Linked DNA regions of Homo sapiens: region 2 is linked to region 1. The links are contacts of gene promoters, found by promoter capture Hi-C in human tissues and cell types (Jung and others, 2019). All regions are on one chromosome and are shown on one strand. Each heading gives the region's core, a stretch centred on a gene start or on the middle of the fragment in contact. The rest is flanking DNA. Distances are from core to core; before and after follow the strand shown.

What was found. The method cuts DNA at HindIII sites, captures the fragments that hold promoters and counts their contacts. A contact is called where the count stands out against the background at its distance.
Region 2: a contact is called between a fragment that was not itself captured here and the fragment with the promoter of POU2F3 in region 1, in 2 of the 25 tissues and cell types used here (dorsolateral prefrontal cortex and hippocampus).

Annotation. Positions count from the first base shown.
Region 1 is chr11:120,237,850-120,242,339 of GRCh38, reverse strand. POU2F3 (POU class 2 homeobox 3) reads right to left here and starts at 2,200. Exons shown (of 13, transcript NM_014352.4): 1 at 1,969-2,200. The coding sequence starts at 1,996. The HindIII fragment of the contact is 19,243 bases long and covers 1-4,490 here.
Region 2 is chr11:120,152,126-120,156,615 of GRCh38, reverse strand. No RefSeq gene overlaps it. Among named protein-coding and RNA genes, the nearest start is that of TRIM29, 16 kb to the right of the region's middle. The HindIII fragment of the contact is 4,875 bases long and covers 95-4,490 here.

The DNA of each region.
Region 1 (4,490 bases), core at 951-3,450:
GAAGACCCTACAAAGAAGATCTTGAACAGTAAAGGCCACCAGGAGGACCCAGCAAAGAGAGCCCTCTAATAGAGACCCAGTTAGAGAGATGGGACAGAAAGTCCTAAACTCAGAGACCTCTGGAGGTGCCACTGAAGGGGAACCCTCAGACACTACAGAGGGGCCAAGACCCAGAAACTGCACAGGGAGGCCAGGTAGCCCTGAGGGGGGAATGGGCTGGGGAGGGAGCAGGCAAATGGAGAGAGATGAATTGGGCAATCTACCCCCAGGTACATGGAGATCCCGCCCTGAGGAATCACCCCACCTGGGGTTTAGCTCAGTCTCCCCCCATGTGTCGGGAATACCTGCTCACAGGGACAGGGTGGAGAAGGTGTCTGGGCTTCTGAGAAGCATCAGCCAGGAGCTCACTCCTGGGGAAGGCATAGAGGCCAAGCCCTATGCCTCAACCTCATCCTCTGGTGTTCTCTGCTCTCTGCTATATCCTCTGAGGCCCCAGGCTGCCTCCCTGCTGGGTCCCAACTGTCCCACCCCCTCCCACTTCCACAGAATGGGAGCCTCCAGTAGACAAGGAGGTGGAAAACCCCCAGGAAGTCTGTGATCTTGGTGCTAAAAAACTTCCCATCCACTGCTAAGCCCACCTTTCTGAAGAGACTTGCTCCCATTCAAACCCTGGCCTTCTCTGCGGGCAGTGAAGGGGAGAGCACCTACCCGGGGATCTGCCCCAGGTATGCCCAGTCTAGAAACAGACTTTCCTCAGACTCTGGATGACACCCAGTTGGATGGCTTCTTCCGCCTCACCTAGCCTTTCTGGCACGTCCTGGAGAGCCACTCAGTGCCAACATCTCACTGCCAGTCTGCCTCTCACTCAGCCCTGCCAGGAAACAGCATCTGGGGAACTGGGCACTCCAGGTCCCCTCCCTCCGGGCACTCACTGACGCTTGTTTTCAGGCTGGGTAGGCCTCAGGCCTGCTCTGCTTCTTGGGGTGGGTCTGGAGCATTGCCTCCTCCCTACTCTCCCAGAAAGGAGACCAGGTAACAACATTCCCATCAACAGCCCCGAAATCCTAAAGAAAGATCACTGGGTCCTGCCCACTTTGAGAGTAAGTTGCTAGGTTAGAAATGGCCAGGTCAGGTACCGCTTTCTTCACTTGTTCTTTGCTCAGGCCCTGTGACCTCCAGAAGGCCCACCCTAACAGGAAGCCCCAAGCCAAGCCCAACCTGGCTGCCTGGCAGCTCCTGCCTTAGCCCAGCTGTGGAAGGAGGAACAGCAAGGTGAATGGAGGGGCTGGGTTCCCTCCATGCCCACCTCTCATTCATTCATTCAGGGAAGCCTGACTCCCGGCAAAGCATTTGCATCTCCTAGGTTTCCACCCCTTAGGGAAGGAAGGCATGGGACATGGAACCCAGAGGATGTGTCTGTCACCATCCCTTCTCAAACACATGGGGGCATGGCCCCTGCCCCAGGGGCACCTCTGTAATTGCCCCACCTCAGCCACTTCTCCTAAGCCCCCCAACCACCTAAATGTCCGCTTTGCCTCCATTTCACACATATGCCCGGACACCAGCACACAGCATGTGGACATACACATTTCCCTCACTTATGCACTCCCAGGTCCACACCCCTGGCTGAGTGAGTGAACCACCCATCCCTGCAACCTCCTGAGACTATGACAGTTCAGTACACCCACGTCCCATACAACTGCCACTCCCCAGACCGGGGGCTTCGAAGCCCTCCCGCCCTTCACCAGCCCCCACCCTCATTCTTTTCCAGGGTTTCTTATCCCAGATCCCCTCCCTTTAGTCCCCAAATACTGACCGGCACCCACCCCAGGACAACCCGCTATCCACACCGCCCTCTCCTGGCCGCTGGGAAACAAGCCCCCCTCCCTAACCAGAACGTTGTCCCTCTCCTTCACCCCTGCCCACGCGCAGTGACACCTGTCAGAGCTCATTCCCTCCGCCCCTCACCTGTGTGCATGGACTCCAGATTCACCATCCTGCCCCAGGCGGGGCCAAAGCCAGCGCCCCCCCAGGCCCCTCGCCTCTGCCCCAGCCGGGGCCCCTGCGAAGCCAGGGTCTCCTTCCTCCAGTTCCCGGCCGCCGCCGCCGCGGGAGCCGCTGCCGGAGCCGTCGCCGCCACTGTCGCGCGCTCCGCTGCTCCGGCCCGGGCAACACTCGGCGCCGCCAGGATTGCCACACTCCCCAGGTGAGCACGCGGCGCGGGGCGGGGGCCGCCGGCCACGCCCCCTGGCAGGAGCCCCGCGCCTGGCCCCAGGCCCATGCAAAGCAGTGATTTGCATACATGGAGCTGGGGACCTGGGGAGGGGGCCGGGGGTGCTGCCGGGGCGGGTCTCGATCCCGCGGAACACCTGCCTGCTCCAACCCAGCCTGGCAGCACCTCCTCACCGCGCCCGGAGTGGCGCCAACTCCTGGTCCTGCTCGCCCTTTTTAGGAAGCCCTGGCGGGTTCTCCAGCCTGAGCCCGAGCTTCCTTCTGGACAGATCGCGAAGTGTAAGCGCTGCAAGGAGTTGGAGTGTTTGGAGAAGTCGCGGGGGTCTGCTGGAAAGAATTCAGTTTTGGAATCTCGCCTCCCAACCGCTTACCAGCAGTGTGGCTGGGACAAGGTTCTTCACCTCCCTGAGCTCATTTAACTCACCTGTAAAACAGGACAGGTGCTAATCGGGTTCCCTATTGGGCTGAGCAGGTGACCAAGCTCACCTAGCCCCCATGGCATCCTCACAGCATTGTGGGATTTAGACGGGGTGCAGTTTATTATTAGCAGAGTTTCCAGGTGCACACAACTGCTTCCTGCTTGCCCCTCCAGTCTCCCGCCCCAGGTCCCAGGTTGCTGTGAGGCTCTACGAGATGATGGATGTGGAAGTTACCAGTGCCCAGGCTTTTGGTGACAGCCACCTTCCAGAGCGGGGAAGCGGCTTGCTCAAAGGTGCACACTTCCCTAGTGACAGAGCCTGGCTGGAATCAGGTCTCTGGACTCCCACTCCAGTGCTCTTTGCAGCACCCATCATAGGCTCACCCCTTTCTCTTCGTCTCTTCAAGTCCCAGTAAGTGGTCTGTCACCACAGGATGGCCTGCATGGAAGCCCAGAAAGCTGTGTGCAGACAGGAGGGCAGGGCCTCGCTTTCCTTCCCAGACAGGACTCCTCATGAACATGTCTTCTCCTTAGTCCCATGGGCTACTTTCTGAGCACAGAACAGGTTTTGGGCTTTCCTGCCTCTACACCTTGTTTACAGTGTCCTTTCCCCCTGGCACGCCCATCCCACCGTGCACTCCAGTCATGCCCACGATAACACCCAGCATTTCGTGTGCCTTCACTGTGTATCAAGCACTGGGGTGACCAACACTTGAAAGGCATCTTTCGTGCCTTTAGTTCTTGTTTAGTCCTCAAAACCTGTACATTGTACTATGATTATTGCCATTTTATAGATGGGGAAAATGAGGCTTAGAGAGTTTAAGTTCCGTGTTCTTTTTTTTTTTTTTTTTTTTTTTTTTTTAGACAGAGTCTTGCTCTGTTGCCAGGCTGGAGTGCAGTGGTGCAATCTCGGCTCACTGCAACCTCCACCTCCTGGGTTCAAGCGATTCTCCTCAGCCTCCTGAGTGGCTGAGACTATAAGCACGTGCCACTACACCCAGCTAATTTTTGTGTTTTTAGGAGAGACAGGGTTTCACCACGTTGCCAGGATGGTCTCGATCTCCTGACCTCGTGATCCACCCGCCTCAGCCTCCCAAAGTGCTGGGATGACATGTGTGAGCCACCACGCCCAGCCTAAGTTCCATGTTCTTAACAGCCTTCGTGGCAGGTTCTGAGGGCCTTTTCTTAGCTTACCCCCTGGTTGGTAACTGATCAATTGCTTCATTCTAGTGCCAGCACCCCAGCACCTAGAACAGGGCTGGGCACACAACAGGTATCAGAAAGTGTTCTGTGGGTGCTACAGTGGCCCCAGAGGAACAGGAAGCACTTAATTGCTTCTTCAGGTCCACATACACCACCCTCCCCAGTCACATGGACCTCCCTTCCCCACGCTCCCGAAAAGAAGGGAGGAGAGAAACTTCTTCTTGCTTCTTTTTCTTTTTCTTTTTTGAGATGGAGTTTCTACCTTGTTGCCCAGGCTGGAGTGCAATGGCATCATCTCGGCTCACGGCAATCTCCGCCTCCCAGGTTCAAGCGATTCTCCTGCCTCAGCCTCCCGAGTAGCTGGGATTACAGGCATGCGCCACCATGCCCGGCTAATTTTGTATTTTTAGTAGAGACGGGGTTTCTCCATGTTGGTCAGGCTGGTCTCAAACTCCTGACCTCAGGTGATCTGCCTGCCTCGGCCTCCCAAAGAGCTGGGATTACAGGTGTGAGCCACCGTCCCCTGCACTTTTTCTTGTTTCTTCTGGGTGAGGAAAGAGACCAGCAAGGGCTTATTGGAGGCCCAAGGGGGTCCCTCTCAGGACACTCTCAGCCTCTGTTCCTTCCTTCCCTCCTA
Region 2 (4,490 bases), core at 1,283-3,782, 86 kb after region 1:
AACCAGAGGCTGTGGGGGCCAGGCTGTAGCACTAAGAGAATGGGGTGGCCCATGGTTCCTGCAGGAGGCTGTGATTGCCTTGTTTAACTGCACCTGGTTCTCTTTATTAAGAGGATTTGGCTAGGGGTTAGGAGCAGAGTGGAATGAGGAACTTGGGGCTAGGCTAGATGAGGCCCTCCTGTTTTCATCAGGTGTCAAGGTAGCACATAATATTGAACCTTAATTTTAGTTCTTACACCACAGAAAAGATCAATACAATTGATAAAACTCTAACCTGACTGATCAAGAAAAAAAGAGAAAAGACACAAATTACCAATATCAGGAATGAAAGCAAGGATATCACTACAGATCCTACAAACATTGAAAAAAACCTAAGGAGATATTATAAACAACTACATGCCAATAAATTCAGTGACTTAGATGATAAAATGGACATAATCTTTGAAACACAAACTATGAAGGTCATTCAATAAGAAATAATTTGAATATCTTATGTCTGTTAAAGGAATTACATTCATAGTTTTTAAAAAGTGAAACCTTTTTCATAAAGAAAACTCCAGGATCAAGTGGTTTCACGAGTGCATTCTACCCCCAGGTGTATTGGTAAATGTTTTACACCTGGCACTCTAGAAAAAACAACAACCTGTTTTGTAGCATTTGCCACTTTCCATAGTGTAAATATTCCCGCTATGGTCAATTTCATGCTACCAATGTGATGTCAATCATCATGGAGATAAAAAGAGATGTGCATATATATGCACAAATATATATAAAGATAATACCATATAAATGAAAGTCATAAATATCCTAATAGCATTGATATTAATAAAATGTAGCAAAATATTTAAGATATGATAAGTATTCATTCCATATGGATTACTTTTGCTTTTAACATAATTTATTTAATTTTTAATACTGGCTGTATTTAACAGCTGGCTTACAAAATTTCTGAGAATTTGAAAGTACATTGTCATGGGCCAGTACAAGCCATTTCTGGGATGCTAAACATTTTTAAAAAAATACCAATTCTACAAAAACTGTTGCAGAAAAGAGACGGGGAGGAAACATTTCTAAACAGAATTTTAGCAGAAAAAAAATCAGCAATATATACAAAGAATAACAAAGTGTGATCAAATGGGATTTATCCTAGGAATTCAAGGTTGGCTTAACATTCAAAAGTCAGTTTTTTTAAGTTTTAAAATCTTTATTTATTTATTTTATTTAAATAGCTTTGGGGGTACAAGTGGTTTTTACCTACATGGATGAATTCTATAGTGGTGAATTCTGAGATTTTAGTGCACCCATCACCTGAGCAGTGTAACTGTACCCAGTATGAAGTCTTTTATCCCTCACCTCGCTCCCAACCTCCCCACCCACAAATCCCCAAAGTTCATTATATCACTCTGTATGTCTTTGCATCCTCATTGCTTAGCTCCCACTTACAAGTAAGGATATACAGTATTTGGTTTTCCATTCCTGAGTCATTTCTCTTAGAATAATGGCTTCCAGTTCCATCCAAATTGCTGCAAAAGACATTATTTCTTTCCTTTTTATGGCTGAGTAGCATTCCACAGTGTATGCACATCACATTTTCTTTATCCACTCATTGGTCTATGGGCACTTAGATTGATTCCATATCTTTGCAATTGTAAATTGTGCTGCTATCAGCGTGAGTATGCCTGCATGTATGTGTGTGTCTTTTTTGTATAATGACTTCTTTTTCTCTGGGTAGTTACCCAGTAGTAGGGTTGCTGGATTGAATGGTAGATCTACTTTTAGTTTCACAAGTCAATTTATATACAACTTGAATGAACCTTGGAGACACTCTGTTGAGTAAAATAAGCAGTCGTAATAGGACAAATAGTGTATGATTCCACTTATATGAGATATTTAAAGTAGTCAAAGTCATGAAAACAGAAAGTAGAATGGTGGTTTCGTCGAGTTGGGAAGGGGGAATGGGGAGTTGTTGTTTGATGGGTATAGAGTTTTAGTTTTGCAAGATGAAAAACTTCTAGAGATCTGTTATACAACAATGTGAATGTAGTTAACACTACTGAACTGTATACTCAAAAATGATAAATGGTAAGTGTTATGTGTTTTTAACCACAATTTTTAAAAAGTCAATCTATAATTTATCATATGTGGTAGTCATAATATCTATGTCCTAATCCACAGAACTTGTGAATATACTACTTTATGTAGCAAAAGATATTTTGCAGATATGATTGTTAAGGATTTTGAGATGGGAGATTATTCTGGATTATCAGGATGGGCCCAATGTAATCACAAAGATCCTTGTACCTAAAAGAGGGAGGCAGGAGAGTCAGACAAAAAGATGTGTCATGACAGAAGCAGAGATTGGAGTGATATAAATGCTGGCTTTGAAGATGGAAAAAGTCATGAGCCAGGGAACATGTGCAGCCTCTACAAGCTGGAAAAGGCAAAGAAACGGGTTATCTTCTAGAGCCTTCAGAAAAGATGCAGCCCTGCCAACATCTTGATTTTAGCCCATTTTGGGCTTCTGACCTCCAAAACTATAAGATAATAAATTTGTGTTGTTTTAAGCCACTAAGCTTGTTACGGCAGCAATAGAAAATGAATGTATCATATAAACAGATCTAAAAAGGAAAAAAACATGATCATGTCAGTAGATTCAGGGAAAGCTTTTGACAAAATTCAACAAGACAAATTTATCAAGATTCATGATAAAATCTTAGCAAATTAGGGATACAAGGGAACTTACACAATCTGGAAAAGGGCATCTATTTAAAAATACCCTACAATTGACATTATACTTAGTAGTGAAAAATGGGATGTTTTTCCTCTCAGATTAGGAACAAAGCAAGTAAGTCTGTTATAACTATTTCTATTCGACAGTGTACTGGAGGTCCTAGCCAGTGCAAGAATTCAAGAAAAAGAAAAAAGGCACAGATGAGAAGATTCAAAATTGTTTTTATTTATAAACAATATAATTTTCTCTCTAGAAAATCTTAGGAAATCCACAAGCAAGCTAAGACACTACAGTTAATAAATGAGTTTAGCAATGTTGCAGGATATGGGTTCAATACACAAAAATTAATTATTATTATTATTATTTTTGAGAGGGAGCCTCAGTCTGTCACCCAGGCTGGAGTGCAGTGGCACAATCATGACTCACTGAAGCCTTAAGCTCCTGGGCTTAAGCAATCCTCCCACCTTAGCCTGCCACGTAGCTGTGACTACAGGCCTGTGCCACCACACCTGACTGACTTTTTTATTTTTAAATTTTTTGTAGAGACAGGGTCTTGCTACGTTACCCAGGCTGTTCTCAAATTCCTGGCCTCTAGCTGGAGTTGCCACCTTGGCCTCCTAATATGCTAGTATTACAAGTGTGAGCCACTGTGCCTGGCCTAATTGTATTTCTATATACTAGAAACTAACAATTGGAATTTAAATGGAAAATAACATTTATGATGGCATGAAAACATGAACTAGTTAAGAGTAAATTAGCAAAAATTTGTATAGTACACTAAAAACTACAAAACTGCTGGGAGAAGTTAAAGAAGATCTAAATAAATAGAGAAACATACCATGTTCATGGTATGTATTGATATTATTAAGACTTGCTATTGTTAAGCTGTCAATTCTCCCCAAATTGATCTTCAGATTTAATGTACTCTCAGTCAAAATCAGAGCAGATTTTTGAAGAATTTTGTAATCTGATCCTAAAGTTCATATGGAAATGCCATGGATCATAATAGGTACAAAAAATTATGAAAAACGAAGACCAAGCTTGGAGGACTTACTACCTGATTTTTAAGACTTACAACAAAGTAGTAGTAATTAGATAGTGTATTATGGAATAAAGTAAACATTTAGATCACTGAACAGAATAGAGAGTCCAGAAATAGATTTATATATATGTAGATAACTGATTTTTCACAAAGGTGCCAAGGTAATTCAACGGGGGAAATGATAGTTTTTTCAACAAATGGTGCTGGAACAATTGGGTATCCATATACAAGAAAAAAAATGGCCCTTATCTCACATCATAAACAACAATTAACTTGAAATAGTGGATCTAAGATTTAAAATCTTTATAACCTAAAATCTTTATAACCTGTTATGCATAACAGCTCTATCTATACCAACCGCACACTGAAGCAAACATAGAAATTTCTTAGATAGGACATAGAAAGCACAAACCTTAAAGAAAAAAAAAATCAGTATATCAGACTTCCTTAAAAAAAACTTGTTCTATTTATTTATTTATTTATATAATTTTTGAGACAGGGTCTTGCTCTGTCACCCAGGCTGGAGTGCAGTGGCATGATCTCGGCTCACTACAACCTCTGCCTCCTGGGTTCAAGTGATTCTCCTGCCTCAGACTCCTGAGTAGCTGGGATTACAGGCCCCCACCACCATGCCCGGCTAATTTTTGTACTTTTTTTTTTTTTTCAGTAGAGACAGGGATTCAACATGTTGGCCAGGCTGGTCTCAAACTCCTGACC